2 separate regions of the Homo sapiens genome follow, and region 1 is linked to region 2. The links are contacts of gene promoters, found by promoter capture Hi-C in blood cells and fetal thymus (Javierre and others, 2016). All regions are on one chromosome and are shown on one strand. Each heading gives the region's core, a stretch centred on a gene start or on the middle of the fragment in contact. The rest is flanking DNA. Distances are from core to core; before and after follow the strand shown. Region 1 has its middle 12 kb from the start of MED18. Region 2 holds the start of ATP5IF1 (ATP synthase inhibitory factor subunit 1).

Evidence for each region. The method cuts DNA at HindIII sites, captures the fragments that hold promoters and counts their contacts. A CHiCAGO score of 5 or more calls a contact.
Region 1: a fragment that was not itself captured here is called in contact with the fragment with the promoter of ATP5IF1 in region 2 in 1 of 17 cell types (M1 macrophages); the score reaches 5.2 in M1 macrophages.

Annotation. Positions count from the first base shown.
Region 1 is chr1:28,339,369-28,342,068 of GRCh38, forward strand. No RefSeq gene overlaps it. Among named protein-coding and RNA genes, the nearest start is that of MED18, 12 kb to the left of the region's middle. The HindIII fragment of the contact is 2,939 bases long and covers 1-2,700 here.
Region 2 is chr1:28,234,674-28,237,373 of GRCh38, forward strand. ATP5IF1 (ATP synthase inhibitory factor subunit 1) reads left to right here and starts at 1,451. Exons shown (of 3, transcript NM_016311.5): 1 at 1,451-1,597; 2 at 1,688-1,779. The coding sequence starts at 1,511. RefSeq lists enhancers at 350-856, 1,650-1,709 and a silencer at 689-913. The HindIII fragment of the contact is 3,687 bases long and covers 1-2,700 here.

The DNA of each region.
Region 1 (2,700 bases), core at 7-2,506, 100 kb after region 2:
ACTTTGGGAGGCCGAGGCAGGCAGATTACCTGTCAGGAGTTTGAGACCAGCCTGGCCAACATGGTGAAACCCCATCTCCACTAAAAATATAAAAATTAGCTGGGCATGGTGGCACACGCCTGTAATCCCAGCTCTTTAGGAGACTGAGGCAGGAGAATTGCTTGAGCCCAGGAGACAGGTTGCAGTGAGCTGAGATTGTGCCACTGCAATCCAGCCTGGCCGATAAAGCGAGACTCTGTCTCAAAAAAAACAAAAACAAAAACAAAAACACCTGAGATTGCCTGCAACTCTTCACTACCATAAAAAATGCTAAAATAAGCAAATTCGTAGATTGTTATAAAAATTCCCCTGGATGACTGGGCGCGGTGGCTCATGCCTGTAATCCCAGCACTTCAGGCGGCCGAGGTGGGTGGATCAACTGAGGTCAGAAGTTCAAGACCAGCCTGGCCACCATGGTGAAACCCTATATCTACTAAAGATGCAAAAAATTGCCGGGCATGTGGCATGCCCCTGTAATCCAAGCTACTCGAGAGGCTGAGGTGGGAGAATTGCTTGAATCTGGGAGGTGGAGGCGGAGGCTGCAGTGAGCTGAGATTGCGCCACTGCACTCCAACCTGGGCAACAGAAAGAGACCTCATCTCAAAAAAAAAAAAAAGACTGGGCTCAGTGGCTCACTCCTGTAATCCCAGCACTTTGGGAGGCCGAGGTGGGCAGATTACCTGAGGTCGGGAGTTCGAGATCAGCCTGACTAACATGGAGAAACCCCGTTTCTGCTAAAAATGCAGTTAGCCAGATGTGGTGGCGCATGCCTGTAATCCCAGCTACTCAGGAGGCTGAAGCAGGAGAATCGCTTGAACCCTGGAGGCAGAGGCTGCGGTGAGCCGAGATCACTCCATTGCACTCCAGCCTGGGTAACAAGAGCAAAACTCTGTCTCAAAAAAAAAAAAGAAAAAAAAATCCCCTGGGCTGTATAGCTATGAGCATGCTCACATTTGCCAACTATTGCAGGTTACTTTTCAGAATGTCTGTAACATTTACTTTCCTATTGCTAGTGAACAAGAACTCATAGCCACATCCTCACCAGTTGGTGTGATGTGGCATGACCCGTCTTTCTAGTTTTTTCCAGTTTGATGGATGTAAAATGGCAGCTCTTGGTTGTTTTGATTTGCTTGTCTCTGGTTATAATTACATTTGAATCTTTTCATTTCTTTCTTTGTATGTAACAGTATATAGACTTTTTTAGTATGTGAAACTAAGGTATCTATATTCTTTGCCCATTTTTTATATTTTATTTTCAATGGTATTGATCTGCAGAACCTTTGTATATTCTAGATATTAATCCTTTGCTTAAAACATTGCAAATATCTTCTCTCAGTCTGTCACCTTTCTGTTAACTTTATCTGTGATGTCATTAATTAAGCAGAGATCCTAAATTTTGACTATATTATGGTTTGGAATCTTGTTCCTTAGTTTTTCTTTTTGAGACAGAGTCTTACTCTTTTGCCCAGGCTGGAGTGAAGTGGTAGGATCTCAGCTCACTGCAACCTCTGCCTCCCGGGTTCAAGCAATTCTCATGCCTCAGCCTCCTGAGTAGCTGGGACTATACGTGCATGCCACCACGCCCAGTTAAATTTTTTTACTTTTAGTAGAGACAGGGTTTTACTATGTTGATCAGGCTGGTCTCGAACTCCTGAGCTCAGGCAATCCTCCCGCCTCAGTCTCCCAAAGTGCTAGGATTAGAGGCATGAGCCACAGCGCCCGGCATAGAATTTTGTGTAGGAAGTCTTCATTTACCCTTAGGGAACAGATTTTCCTTCTTAGCTTTATAGTTTTAACTTTCACATTTAGGTCTTTAATCCATCTGGAGTCTATCTTCTAGGTGGTTTCAAGTAAAAATCCAGCTTTCTTCTCCTTGCAGTGAATTAGTTTTTCTACCACCATCTGAAAAACAATTTTCAGTGCTTTCTGATGCTACCGTTGTTACATATTAGGTTTCCTCGTATATACTTTATTTTTAAGCTCTCCATTCTATTTCATTTTTTATTTCTTTGTTTCAGTGCCCGCAACACAATGTTTTTATTGTTATGGCTTTATAGTAGAGCCATTTCTACCAATAGGGCAGGTACCCTTACCTTTTTGTCCTCTAAAATAGACTTATAGTGTAGTAATATTTCAAAAAATAATAATAAAGAAAAGAAAATAGATCTAGCATCCAGGCATGATGGCTCATGCTTATAATCCTAGTACTTTGGGAGGCCGGGGCAAGAGGATCACTTGAGGCCAGGAATTCAAGACCAGCCTGGGCAACATAGCAAGAACTTATCTCTCCAAAAAAATTTTTTTTGAATTAGCCAGGTGTGATGGCATGCACCTGTGGTTCCAGCTATGTGGGAGGCTGAGGTAGGAGGATCTCTGGAGCTTGGGCGGTTGAGGTTGCAGTGAGCTGTGATGAGATCACTACATTCCAGCCTGGGTGACACATTGAGACCCTGTCTCAACAACAACACAAATATAGACTGGGTTTTCATAGGCCTTTATTCTTTCATATTCATTTTAGAGTAAGTTGTAGATTCTCAACATTACTACTGGAATTTTATTGGAATTTCATTGAATATGTATTGATTAATTTGGAAGAGAACCAACATCTTTTCATGGAACATTTCCTGCCCAGAATTCAGTGTGGCTGGCTTTCTTCACCTT
Region 2 (2,700 bases), core at 201-2,700:
GTTTCGCTCTTGTTACCCAGGCCGCAGTGCAATGGCGTGATCTCAGCTCACCGCAACCTCAGCCTCCCGGGTTCAAGCATTCTCCTGCCTCAGCCTCCCAAGTAGCTGGGATTACAGGCATGTGCCACCACGCCTAGCTAATTTATTTTTTATTTTTATTTATTTATTTTTGAGACAGTTTCTCTCTTGTTGACCAGGCTGGAGTGCAATGGCGTGATCTCAGCTCACTGCACCCCCTGCCTCTCAGGTTCAAGCGATTCTCCTGCCTCAGCCTCCCGAGTAGCTGGGATTACAGATATGCGCCACCATGCCCAGCTAATTTTTCATATTTTTTTTTTAGTAGAGATGGGGTTTCTCCATGTTGGTCAAGCTGGTCTCGAATTCCCAACCTCAGGTGATCTGCCCGCCTCGGCCTCCCAAAGTGCTGGGATTACAGGTGTGAGCCACCGCGCCTGGCCTGCTCTTTTCTACTGCATTGCACCACATTGCCAAAAGTGCAGTTATTAAGCCCATTCAACAATATGTTGCTAACGAAAAAAACAAACTAAAATATTTTTAAAAGGTTTATTCTGAGCCAAGATGAGTGACCATAGCTTGGGGAAACACAGCCTCAAGAGGTCCTAGGAAACTGTGCCTGAGGTGGTCAAGTTATAATTTGGGTTTTCTTTTTTTTTTTTTTGTTTTGAGACGGAGTCTCGCTTTGTCACCAGGCTGGAGTGCAGTTGCGCAATCTCGGCTCACTGCAACCTCCGCCTCCCGGGTTCAAGCCAATTCTCCTGTCTCAGCCTCCTGAGTAGCTGCGATTACAGTCGCGTGCCACCGCACCCGGCTGATTTTTGTATTTTTAGTAGAGACGGGGTTTCCCCATGTTGGCCAGGCTGGTCTCGAACTCCGGACCTCAGGTGATCCACCCACTTCGGCCTCCCAAAGTGTTGGGATTACAGGCGTGAGCCACCGCGCCCAGCCAGAACACTGACACTTCTCATAACAAATGAACGCGATTTATGTATATCTAAGCCAGGGCACATTGGACGTCGGTATCCTGGACATCAGCATCCTGGACACAGCTCCCAAACCCCGAATTCCCCCATTTTATTGATGCTAGCAGGCCAGGGAAGGGAAAACTTCCTTTGGGCTTTGAATAATAACGACTTTAGAATTGAAATCGTGGGCTGGAGGTGGACGCCACGCCTCATTCTGATGGGTCCAAGAGCCGAAATTTCGGCTTCTGGCACTCTCCTCACTCAGCTCTCTAAACTCCTCCATCATTCCTCTTTCCAGTCCTTTGGCCCTAAGCCCTTGCTAGCGGTTGGCTAAGAAGAAACCCGTCTCTTGCTCGGGATTCGCTGTGAGCTCCGGGAAGCCCGCCTCCGCTCTCCCGTGATTCGCTACTCCTGTGTTCATCCGCCCCTCCGTCGACCAGATTGGGTGCTTGGCCGTCCCTGCCATTAGCGCGTAACGAGAGACTGCTTGCTGCGGCAGAGACGCCAGAGGTGCAGCTCCAGCAGCAATGGCAGTGACGGCGTTGGCGGCGCGGACGTGGCTTGGCGTGTGGGGCGTGAGGACCATGCAAGCCCGAGGCTTCGGCTCGGATCAGGTACGCTGCGGCAGTGTCCGCTGCTCCAGCCCCGCGGGCGGATCCCATCTTTGCTTCCGTACCTTTACCAGTGTCCCTGTCTCTCTGCAGTCCGAGAATGTCGACCGGGGCGCGGGCTCCATCCGGGAAGCCGGTGGGGCCTTCGGAAAGAGAGAGCAGGCTGAAGAGGAACGATATTTCCGGTGAGGCTCACCGGGTCCCAAGTCCAGCCCTGGATCTCCCAATGGCCTTCCAATCCTTAAACTGCCAATCGCCCCACCCGTTCCTACCTGGTGCCTTGGGCGCCCCATCCCCCAACAGAACTCCCGGGCCCCAATCCAGTATACCCTAACCCTTGATGTCCCGACCGTTGCCACGTATAGGGCACTCCCAGTTACCTGCACAACAGTTTCAGGCCCCCAAACCGTTTCCACCGGCGGGTCTCCAAAACAACCCACGGCTCAACTCCTCCTTTATCATTACCATCTCCCGCGTGGAGTTCTCCTCAGGTCGTGCGAAACACCCCCAGATTCTTCGCACAGTGTCTAGATCCGACCGCCCAACGTTTGCCTCCCAGCCTGACTCCCTCGGCCCTTACCCACCTGTCACCCCCTCTACGCTCTCCTTCCTCGCCAGCACGCCTTAGCTTTGCAAGCCTGCATGCATTCAGGCTTCTCAGGTGTTTCTAGACCCCCGACTCCGCAAGAGTGAGGATGATGGGAGCTGGTCATGGGAGCTACTTATGGTTGGACACCATCTTCTAAAGGCTTTTGCCCTACTCAGCCCAACCTAGACCTGTAGATTTCCCTCTCCTGCTTAGGAGTATGGAGTGGGCTGGGCCTCCCTTTGCCAGCCTTGAGTTATCTTTAACTGACTTCTGTCCACTCTGGAGAGCAGTGAGGAATTAATCTTGCTTTTGCTTGTCCTTTGGCCTTTCACTTCTGCCTTCTGTTGAGAATTATCACCATGACACCTGCCATACCGTATAGAGAGCCAAGGTACAGCCGTTAGAGACTATCTAATTGAGCCCCTACATTTTGTAGTTAAGGAAAACTGAGGCCTAAATGTGACCAAACCAACATTGTAATCCAGTCCCTTCTTGGAACCTAAATTGAACTGCCAAG